Linked DNA regions of Homo sapiens: regions 1 and 2 are each linked to region 3. Evidence: promoter capture Hi-C in 16 types of primary human blood cells and fetal thymus (Javierre and others, 2016). All regions are on one chromosome and are shown on one strand. Each heading gives the region's core, a stretch centred on a gene start or on the middle of the fragment in contact. The rest is flanking DNA. Distances are from core to core; before and after follow the strand shown.

Region 1 (4,038 bases), core at 1,483-3,982, 550 kb after region 3:
AGCTATCAGAGGATGACTTTTAAAAACTTCCCCCACCATATCTCCCCACCAGTGTCCAAGCCCACCCACATGTAGTCCGCTTTCCCCCGTGTTTCCCAGGATGATACAGCAGCCTCCTCCCTCCACGTGTGCGCTAGGTCTCATCCTCTCTTTTACACTCAAGGACAGTGCACCAGCAGTTCTCTCTTCTCTCCTACTTCATCAAGTTTTCACTTTCCACATGATCATGTCCATAGTAGGTGTACATATTTATTGGGTACATGAGATGTTTGGATACAGGCATGAAATGTGAAATAATCACATCATGGAGAATGGGGTGTCTATTCCCTGAAGCATTTATCCTTTGAGTTACAATCCAATTACACTCTTTAACTTATTTAAAAATGTACAATTACCTTATTATTGATTATAGTCACCCTGCTGTGCTATCAAATTAGCAGGTACTACTCATTTTTTTCTATTTTTTGTACCCATTAGCCATATCCACCTCTCTCCCTTCTTAAATATGTTTTTTCTTGACTGACTCCCCCTACTTGTTGCTGTCCCTTTCTTTGCTCCACTTTGCAGCAAAACTCTTCAGAAGAGTTTTGTACTTGCAGCCCCTGATTTCTTTCCTCCCATACTCCCTCAACCCACTCCACTCAAGCTTCTGCCTTCACTATTCCACAAATTGCATTTGTTAAAGTTAATAATAATCTCCCTGTCCTTGAGTCCAATGATTAATTTTTGTGTCTCCTCTTGTTTGACCTACTGACAACACCTGACACAGTTGATCACAACCTCCTTCTTGACACACTTTCCTCAATAGGCTTTTAGCATGCCACATATTATTGGTTTTACTGATCATTCTTTCTCAGTCTGTTTTGCTGGCAACGCCTCTTCTTTCAGACATCTATTTTGTAGTGCCTCAGTCTTCTTCCTTAATCCCTTTATCTATATATTCACTTCCTGGGTTATCTCGTCTAGTCTCGTGGCTTTAAATAAACTATACATGTTGACTGTTCCAATTTATATCTCTAGCTCAGGCTTCTGTTTTGCATTCTTTACTTGTATAATAACACTTCAAACTCAACAGGATGAAAACTGAACTCCTAATCTGCTTTACCCACCAAGTCCATGCCAACTGTATCTCTCCAGTTAGGCCAAATCTTGTGGCCATTGGTGACTCCCCTCTTTATCTCATACCTTATATTTTTACTTCTCTGCAGAGTTCATAGAAAAAAAAATCATATACCATATATTTTACATACAGAATCCCTTGGCTCTTCCTTCAAAATACATAAAGACTCCAACCAGTTCTCAGCACTCTACGACTTCCATCCTAGTCCAGTCGTAATATTTTGTTGCCTGTGTTATTGCAGTCATCTCATAAACAAACTTCTCATTTCTGCCCCTGTTCCCTACAGTTAATTCTCAAGATGACAACAAAATAGTTGAAACACACAACATAAAACAATCTTAAAGCTATTTCAAGATACACACCAATACATGCATCAAGTACATTAGTGTAAAGCAATACCTAAATAAGAGATGGTTCTGATAATGTTGAATTAAACAGGTTTGTGATTAACTCAATTTCTAGATCATATGCCCCCCAAAATTTTAAATGTAAAATAAATATAGCTGATTTTTAAAAAACCATCCAATCTGGTAATATACATATTCCAGTAGACAAGTATATAATATGTATATTACTTTTATATTTATTTCAATTTCTGATTTATTTGGGCTTATTTCTACCATCTTATTTTATATGTTGCATATTATTTTCCTGATTCATTTAAAAAAGTCACATTGTCTCCTTTTGAATTGATAAAGTTTTATTAATTCTTCCTCCTTATTTTCTTTTTCTTTCTTGGCTTGGAAGCTAAATGTTTTATTTGTATTCTTTTAGAGCCTCAACCTTACAAACTGATCATGCATATTTAATAAAGTCAAAAGTTGTTTTCCACAATCATATTTCTTAACAACATTTAAGTCTAAGTCTTACATATAGAATTTTTAGAGTTTATCATTAGCCTTTTAACCACAACATTACCATATCATTGGTGGTTATATTTGTCATGATGCTGTGTTTTCATGAAGGGTTCATGGGTTCATATTTTCTTAATTCAGGTGTATCTGAAAATTTCTGTTGCCTTTATACTTGCTTGGCAGATTGGTTGAGTATAGCATTCTTTGTTTACATTTCATGTCCTGTTACACTGTAGACTGTTCTATAGTCTCTGAATATTTATGTGGATGTCTGAAGACAATATGCATTCTCCACCTCATAAATGTCTTGCTTTTACTGCTTACATGACTGAAGAAGTCTATCTTTACCCTTGAATCTCAAGAGGTGGACTACTATATGTTAGATTTTTTTCTTAAGAAACTTTTTTGTCCCATCGATTGTGTTCTCTACTTAGCATACAAGGTTATTCTGGATTTTAGGTTTTACTTTTATTCCCTGCTCTTTGTCTATAGTTTTTTTTTTTTCTAGTTACTTTAATCACTTGGTCTTGTTTCTCTGCATTCACTTTATGGCCGCAAGGCTGTGTTATCTGTTCTACTTATGTTATTTAATATTATCTAGGTTACTTACTTTACCTGTTATTTTCCAATTATTTTTTAGTTCTTTAATACTGTTATTTCCCCTTCAGTTTTGCTCTTAGCTCTGTATTTTCACTTTAATCTGCTATTTTATTATTGTAAACTTAGTATACTGATACCTTGAATGTGTTTTCTGTAAGTTCTTTGCCAAGAAACAGTGCAATATTTTTCTTTATTTCATTAGGTAATATTTTTCTTCTAGAGTTGATTTTTTATTTCATTTTTGTAGTCCATTATTCCTTCCTACCTCCTTGGTCATTCGTCTTCCTCTTTCCTTCCTCTCTTTCTTTTATCTGTTTCTTTCTTTCTTTTTTATTCCTTCCTTTTATAATGGTATATTTGCAGTATTGACATGCTGCTTTCTTTTTTCTATATCATGGTCTTCTAATTGTTATGATGCAGTGTGGGTAAATTTTTCAACCTAATTTAAAATTCACAGAGCTTCAGTTTAACACTGCTATTTCACATTGCATTACTTTTACGTAGCCTAAGACCACAAAGTTTCAAGAGGAGAATTCAACCTAGGTTCTGTGATATTTTATATAAAGGATGTGTTTTCTGTGCTTCTTTTTCCATTTTTTTGTGAAATATATTGTATCAAGTCTCAATATACTAAGTTGGCTGTGCAGCTGCTTCTGTTCTGTGGTGGGCGCTCTTGCATTCAAAATAAAGTGGACCCTGGAGCCCACCTTTGCTCCTGAGGCGGTTAGCCTAGGTAATTCTCTCATCACTTCTTCCCGTAGCCATTTCCACACTGTCTCCTCACACTGGAATGAAACACAAGTAGAAACTGTTGCTTTTGATCACAAAATTTCAAGAATGACTGATCTATTGACTATGAGGTTAGAATTTGAAGGTTTAAGGCACTGCATAGTAGAGGGGACTGAGGTTGGCGTTACGATCCCAGCTAAATCAATGGCCTTTAGTGCACTCATTTCACCTTCTTCCCCTCTCTCAGAGGATTTGCATTTTTTTTTTTTTAATGCTTAGTCTTCAATTGCTTTGCTTTTCCAAGTTAACTCTGGGAAAGATCGTTCAATCCTTCTTCTTCTTCTTCTTCTTTTTCTTTTGAACATTCTTCCTTCTGAGAAAAAGCCCTGAAGATTGTTGAATATTTTTCCTGAGTCTTCTGAGGCTTGGGGGACTAAAGTATATAGAGCTTTGTCCACAATTTTTACCTGGACTGTCTACGCATCTCTTCAAGTTTATGTTTCAAGTTGAAAGAAAATGTTTTAAAATCATGGGATTCAAGGCATGCAGGACATTATTAAAATCATGCAGAATAGTGTTTCCTAATCAGTAGCTTAGGTAGTTTTTCAGTTTTTGTGTTATTTTTGATAGTGCGTACTGCTAGTTACTTGGTGAGAAGAAAAGCAATTTGCAACTAAAATGATGTACCTAAATTATGCAACTAGCTACAGAGATACACCCAACTCTAGTTTTCTA
Region 2 (3,959 bases), core at 379-2,878, 530 kb after region 3:
ATTTTAGAACCAAAGCCAATGGGCTCATATCTCTACTTATTGAACACAACAAAAATGTATTCATGTCAAGCATCTGGCTCCGGGTGTGTCATCATTCATGAATGGAAGAAGAATATGTGATGACCATATGTGATCATCAAACCTCAGCCCTCTGGCACTGGTATATCACTTTTATACTTGGCAAAACCTTGTCTGACAACATTCCCAAACAGCTTGCAGCAGTTAATCAACTCTAGTCAGCTATTACAGCTGATCCTTTCTGCAGATGGAAGATGGTAGGTTTGCGTTTCCAGCTCTTTTACATATCTCCCTGAGCTCTCCAGTCTCTAAAGTACATTTGTCTGCCAGTGGGTTTCTGGAGAAGACATCTGCAATTATAAACATTTTCCCAGGAACATATGCTGCGTGCAGCTTAAACCCTATCAGGCATAACAGAAATCTCTTGTACCTTAAGGGAATTAACACAGAGATTTGATTTTGATAAAGGAGATAGACTTTATAGTTTGAAAGAATGCCAAACAAGCTGAAAATTGCAGCAGATGTGCTGACATCTCAATATTAGTGTAATTGTACTTCTAATCCTTTTTAGGATAAAATACAAAAGCAACAATAATATACATACATGAATAGCAATAGCTGAATTTTATATGCCATAAAATTCAGATAGTGATATTTTGATTGATTTATTATAAGGCTTGAATCCTGCCTACTTTACAATGACTAGAACAGTGACTATACCCAATAGCAATATGCTCTTTTAAGCAAATTGGCCTGGAGATGCAGTGGTATCAGCAGACAATGTTCACTTTATAACCGCTTTGTCTTGGATTTGTGTCCTCCTTTTGAGATTCAGTTGAAGACATTGAACTCAGCTCATTGTTGAAGTCTCTCTAGTACTTTGATCCTTAACAACCTCTCTCTCCTCTATACACCTGCACAAATTACAATAGTGTGTTTATCAGTCATTTGTACACAGGCTTGCACTTTGCATTAACTTTTTTTTTTTTTTTTGTCTTGCCAATTAGGTTGCAGAACTTTTGGGTAAGAGGGGCTAGGTTTCGTGCTTTTTATATGTCTCTAGTATAGCAAGCACTCGACAAATATTCTTTAAATAAATAGCTGTAGATGACTAGATATGTTAGAAAATTTCTTTTCTTTTCTTTTTTTTTTTTTTTCCAAGGCAAGTCTCACTCTGTCACCCAGTCTGGAGTGCAATGGTGAGATCACAGCTCATTGTAGCCTTGACCTTCCTGGGCTCAGGTGATCCTCCCACCTCAGCATCCCGAGTAGCTAGGACCACAGGCAAATGTCACCATGCCCTGATAATTTTTATAGAGACAGGGTTGTATCATGTTGCGCAGCCTGGTCTGGAACTCCTGGCTTATCCACATGCCATGGGCTCCCAAAATGCTGGGATTACAGGCGTGAGCCACCGTGCCTGGCATATTAGACAATTTCTTGAGCAAAAATTTACTGACACCTTGAACAATGAACAAGTGGATAAATATGCTAAACAGCTCCATCAAAAATATTTAGTCTCATCATTCTGTCAAATAAATAAGGAAGATAAAAGTAGTAATAAGATACACTTTTAAAAATAGTAGAAATAAATAAAGTTAATATTTTATAATTTTATGATTTATAATGCTTTTTTCATTTCAGTAAATTATTGGTTAAATTCTTTCAACCTTGATTGAAAAGCCAGAAAGAAAGTTTGTATTAATTTTAAGGGTAGAACATATCTGTAGTAATAGAAAGATAAAAACACCTGGCTTAAATATTCTAGACCAGGAGGGAGACTGACTGTTGGCAGGAAACTGCTTGGCAGAGGGAGACTCAGCTGCCATGCTTGGTTCCCTGGATTGGAAGAGGCAGGAAGGCTTTGGTCTGGGTCTGGAGCTCCAGGAAGAAAACCAGGCAGACCTCTTCTTTGGTTCTGGGCATCTGCAAGAGAATGGAAATCCCAATCCATATTTAAATTTAGGCCATTTTATTTAGTCCTTCTTAAAGTATTTGTTACTTCTTGATTGATAGGATAGTTTATCTCCTGCCTCTCATTTTAATGCCCTTTTCCTTCTTTTCACTACTCACTGCCATTATTACTTGTCCCCTAAGTTAGAAAAAACGAAACGCAGAAGACTGCTGGTAGTAGTTGTGAGAAAAAGTTGAATTTAGCCAAAATAAAAGACTTTAGAAAAAAATATGCATATGTGTATATGTATCTGTATATATATAATTACTTGCATATATATACTTACTGCATATATATTTATATGCATACATAAATTATATATTATATACATATATGAACCAAAATGTGGAGAGTAATTATCGGTTACTTTATACATATATAAATTATATATTATATAACTATATATAGGTATATACATACAAATCGATGTTACTTGAATAGATATGCAGTAATACATGTCTATATATTTATATATATACTTATTTTTATATATTTATATTTGTATAAGTCTATATTTATATAACCAATAATAGTTTGAAGCTATGCATCCTTTTGTAGCTCACCCAATATTACAAAATATAAAAGATATCATAATCAAAGAATTCTATAAAGTTTGACTAAAATTTTTAGAGAAGACATCTGTTTTCTATATTATTGCCAGGTAAATATGTTACCATTTTAATCATCTTTTATTTTGAAATTTGGGGGTTTGTTATTTACTTTGCATTACTCTGTGTAATTTTATGTATAACCCCTAATAAGGTGGTATATGCAAAAGTCGTTTTGTTTAAAAATATAAATGATAGCCTTTCTACTATTTTTTTCTTCTCACATAACTACCACTTGGATATCTCTCTCATTAGATATAATTTTTTTTTCAAAGAATATCAGTGTTTTTACTTCTCATGTTTAGTAATCAACAAAGTGTTAGAGATTTCACAAGTGCATTCAGTTAGTTTATCCACATTATGCTGTTTTAGATTGGGTATAGATGTGAAGCAAGGTTTGTGACAGGTATTTTCAAATATGAGAAGGGCCGTTATGAAGACAAGTAAATCAGATTGTCCTAAAGACATACAAAAGAGAGGGACAAGGAAATTGCTTCTGCATTGACAACAAGTAGGAAATTTATAACAGCTACACAAAGATTTGAATAAGTATTCTCATTACTCATATACCAAAATTGAAGCGGAATCCATATAATTAGCAGCAAATTACAATGTTCTCACTTCAGCAATGACTCTCAAATTCATGAATGTTTGTGTGTGGGGCAGGGGGGTGGTGAAGAAACATCTTTATCTTTTAAATCTGTGAAAAATAAATTCTAAAAATGAATTGGGTTTCCTTTGGTGATAGTAAATTTCTCATCATTAAGAAAACTCAAGCATATTCTGCATTCATTCATTCATTTATTTATTCATGAAGTAAATTCATTCATTTATTTATTTAACCTTAAGGTTGTACGAATAAACTGAGTTCATTATTATTAGTGTAGGGCCATTAAGTTTGTACTGGTCTGTGATATTTAGAATGTAGACATGCTTTATGGTTAGGACCAAATGGAATAACTTGTCAAATGGCCCTACTAAAATACAGCTTCCTACTGATAATACTATAGCAGTTTGGTTTCCGCAAGTACCCCCACCCTGAACTTCTCACACATCTGGGGCAGATACAAAGGATATAGGCTTTAGACCTTCCCCTGCTCTTGAGAATGGCTCCTCAATAGGATCCTAAGAAGTAAAGCCAGAGAAAGACTATGTAACACTATGTCAGATTTGGGAGAAGAGCTAATGGCCATTAATATAACAATAATGATGCAAAAATATTAAAAGGCAATAAACATTATTTCTTTAGCGTTAGTGCAAAATGTACCATTGTCACTTTCAGAAAAACATAGAAGCAAAATTATGATATAGGGAAAACTAGTTCACAATGATAAAATCCAGAATAGTGGTCCATCTTGGGAAAGGGAGGATGCATGGCT
Region 3 (3,692 bases), core at 644-3,143:
ATGGGCTTTAGGGCATAAAAAGCAAATAAATCAAGACATACGTATGTCAGACAGGAAAACAGAAGTGAGTACATAAAGAGATTCTGTGACGAGGATGGACCACTCAACTCATATGTTCATTGTTTTCCACATTTCTATTCCATAGAAGGATATTTGACCTCTTAGTTAAGTTACCAATACAGATAAATTACTAGTGTTTTCAAAGATGAAGCAGAATGAAGATTAATGCACTGGATGACTACTGAAGTATCTATATTAAGGAAAATATTCATATTGATTCCTATGCGCATTAAGAATTAGAAAAAATTCTACCACGGTGAGCATTTAAAGCACCTTGGTAATGTATGTATACACATACACACACATGCGCACACACACACGGTTACTATTGACATCCATATGCTTCCATTTATTCAAATTAGTTACGTGAATGTCTCCTTTTCCTTCTAGTCTTTTTTTCTTTAAACAATCAATATACAAATATATTTCTATAATATTTCAAAAACACAAGTGTAAAACGTAAAAGGCATAAATCCTATTTACTCCTCCGTGATCTCATACCACTCTCCAGAGTTGTTCCTCTCTAGGAAATTTTCTGTAGGTTTATGCACACATATATAGTATTTTGTTTTTAACATAAATGGTATCATACTCTAAATAGTGTGACTTTATCAGGTTCATCTGTCAGAGATATCTGATTGTTGCAGATACACAATAAGCCCTTGGACTACATGTGCTTAAACTACGCGGGCTCATGTGTATGCCGGTTTTTTCTGTCTCTGCCACCCCTGAGACACCCTTCCTCTTCCCCTTCCTTCTCAGCCTACTCAGCGCGAAGACAACAAGGATGAAAACCTTTATGATGATCCACTTCCACTTAATGAATAGTAAATATATTTTATCTTTCTTTATAATTTTTTAAATAACGTTTTCTCTAGCTTATTGTAACAATACAGTGTATAATGCATATAACATATAAAATAAATGTTCATCAGCTGTTTATGTTATCAGTGAGGCTTCCAGTCAACAGTAGGTTATTAGTTGATAAGTGTTGAGGGAGTCAAAAGGTACATGTGGATTTTCGACTGCATGGGGATCAGTGCCTCTAACGCCCATATTATTCAGGGGATAATTGTTTATATATATGGGTGTGTGTGTGTATTTTTTTTAAAAAGCCTTTATTATATTGCATAAAATGAATGAATCAAACAATAGATGTACTTTCTGTATCTTCTGCTCTGTGTGTTTCAAGCTGTATTTTTCTCCATCCTTCCAATTCTACTCGTTTTCCGTTTTTCAAATTTTTTAATCTACTTATGGGAATTTTTCTAATTTTCTCTCAGTAATTATGAATCATCTTTTTAAAGCTACATTTTATATTATTTCATGGAATGTAGGATAAGAGGAAAGACAAAAAAACTGTGCTCAATAGACTACCTGGATCCCATTTCTGAAAACATGGCATGAGACTGAAATAGTTATGCTAAGTAACCACCCATGGATACCAAAATGGAAAATAACTAGTACCTGGGAGATGTCTTTGAACTGTACCACAAGAGATATTAAGCTGGCTTGCACTGGTAGGAACGAACCGATCTGCTTTTATAACCAGAGTCTGTTCCGATGAGTTGGCATCTACATCATACCAGGTGTTACATATTTTGAAAACCATTCCTGATGTACAGTAACATAATTCACAAATCATTACTAAAATGTCTCCTTATCCTAGTTGATGGATAGTAGAAATTTTCTTTGGGTATTAAGTGTCGCCAAAGAAGAGAACAGGAGTAGAACCAACTTCCTTATCTTTTTAAGTCCATCTCACAGTGACTATAATGTCTTCTTCATCAACATATCCTTGGTGCCTGGAACAGTGCCTGACCCATAATAGAGACCCAGAAAATATTAATAAACAAATAAACCTATATTGAATAACATTTGGCTTCTATTTTCTCACTTGGAAAACGAGTTAGATCAAATCCCTAGTCATCCTAAAATTGAAGATTTTATAATTTCATTTATAATTCAATAGTTTCGTATATCATTAAATCTACTAAGCAAAATGAAAAATCAAAGGCTTCATTCTTTCAGACAATTCCATCATGTATTCACGTTGGAAGATAAACACCAATAATAGAACAACAAAACTTTCTAAAATTATTTTATTTTTTATAATTTTCTAACACATGGTGTTAGAAAATGAATTTTGGCACCGTGATTAAGAATTTCTTTTCAAGTTTAACCTTTACATTAAAAACAGTAGCTACAATAAGGATATTTCAACCTTACTTAGAGAAGTGATAAAACATCAAGTCAACAAGTATTTTTGTTGGAGAATTTTTTTATAAGCGGGATAGAGGGAAGTTAACATAGACACTCAGAAGAATAAAATGGAAATTATGCCAGGAAGATAAAAAAGCAAATAACCCTCCCCCCAAAAAAAGAATAAGGAGCGAGACAAAGGGCAAAACGGAAGAAGCAAGGCTCAACAACTTTGTTTTCCTGATATAAAATTCAAGTACTTAAAAAGTTTTTTAAAAAATAATTAAATGCACTACTCATCTCAATGAAATTTTTCGTTTTCCTATTTTCTAGAACTTTCTAAAAAAGGAAACAAAGCAAAAACAACAACAAAAAAAACCTGTTTGACTTAAGGACACTTGCTGATCTTGACACTTGATAATACTTTAAGAAATGGAAAGGTTTTCCTAAATCTAATACCTGCTTAATATAATCCACTTTGGAAGATTCATCTGAAAGAAACATAGGGTTTGATTTTTAATACTAATATAAAATAATCTGCCTTCCAATCAAAACAAAAATGTTTTCAACTGTATACGCTCCTCGGTTGTGTTTTGTACCATTTTCTTGAGGAAAACGTTGTGTAATTCTTTGTGTGTTCCCTTAGTAACTACTGTAAATAAGACCTGCATAGGTGTTCAGAAAAATACTTAGTTGCATACAAATCCAGTTAGAATCTGATTTTCAAGGTTTTACAACATGGTAATTTTCATTTATATCCATTTTGTCTACATTTCCTCTATATTTTGATAAATAAAAATCTTCCCATGCTTTTTTTAAATAAGAAAATATTATTAGTCTTGTTATTTGTACCTAAATATTTTATCAATTTGAAACACAAATTCATAAATTGTCATTATTCTCAGAGGCAACAAAGCATAGAAATAAATATTTAAGTTTTTTCTTTCTTTTCTTCTTCAATCTGTGTTTTAAGGCTCAGAGCAGACATTAAGAAATATCAAACAATTTTTTATAAAAAGTTTTTCAAATGTTTGGCCCAAAGTGAAGTTGTTCTGTTGATGTTATTTAAATATTCCTCTCATCTTCTCAGCCACAACTTCAAAGACGTGTTCATGCCAGTCATTCATCCAAAATAAATTTCAATTCAATGAAAAGTAAATAACTTAGGGATCTATAAATGACACTGCAATGTATCTTGTTCCATTTTTAACAGGAAGTCCTTCATGCAAATGTGTGAGTCTCCCAGGATGCATGAAGCTCCAGCCTTTTCGTGGTGACTCAATAGAGCAATTGTACCTTAGAAATTTGCAACCACCTCCCTAAAAAAGTTAAAATGAAGAAATACATCAGATTATATTTAACCAGTGGCAAAATTCAAATTATGTCATTTGAGCAAAATTTAAAAAAGAAACTAAGGCCTAAGGCAAAGT

Evidence for each region. The method cuts DNA at HindIII sites, captures the fragments that hold promoters and counts their contacts. A CHiCAGO score of 5 or more calls a contact.
Region 1: a contact is called between a fragment that was not itself captured here and the fragment with the promoter of LNCSRLR in region 3, in 2 of 17 cell types (M1 macrophages and M2 macrophages). The highest score is 5.6, in M1 macrophages.
Region 2: a fragment that was not itself captured here is called in contact with the fragment with the promoter of LNCSRLR in region 3 in 4 of 17 cell types (M2 macrophages, neutrophils, monocytes and 1 more); the score reaches 10.8 in M2 macrophages.

Annotation. Positions count from the first base shown.
Region 1 is chr3:146,617,415-146,621,452 of GRCh38, forward strand. No RefSeq gene overlaps it. Among named protein-coding and RNA genes, the nearest start is that of PLSCR5, 14 kb to the left of the region's middle. The HindIII fragment of the contact is 4,176 bases long and covers 645-4,038 here.
Region 2 is chr3:146,598,520-146,602,478 of GRCh38, forward strand. It overlaps PLSCR5 (phospholipid scramblase family member 5), which reads right to left. Exons shown (of 8, transcript NM_001085420.2): 2 at 1,769-1,944. Among named protein-coding and RNA genes, the nearest start is that of PLSCR5, 4.8 kb to the right of the region's middle. The HindIII fragment of the contact is 6,456 bases long and covers 1-3,959 here.
Region 3 is chr3:146,067,292-146,070,983 of GRCh38, forward strand. It overlaps LNCSRLR (lncRNA sorafenib resistance in renal cell carcinoma associated), which reads right to left and starts at 1,894. Exons shown (of 2, transcript NR_146297.1): 1 at 1,528-1,894. PLOD2 (procollagen-lysine,2-oxoglutarate 5-dioxygenase 2) reads right to left here. Exons shown (of 20, transcript NM_182943.3): 20 at 2,149-3,581. The coding sequence ends at 3,426. The HindIII fragment of the contact is 7,145 bases long and covers 1-3,692 here.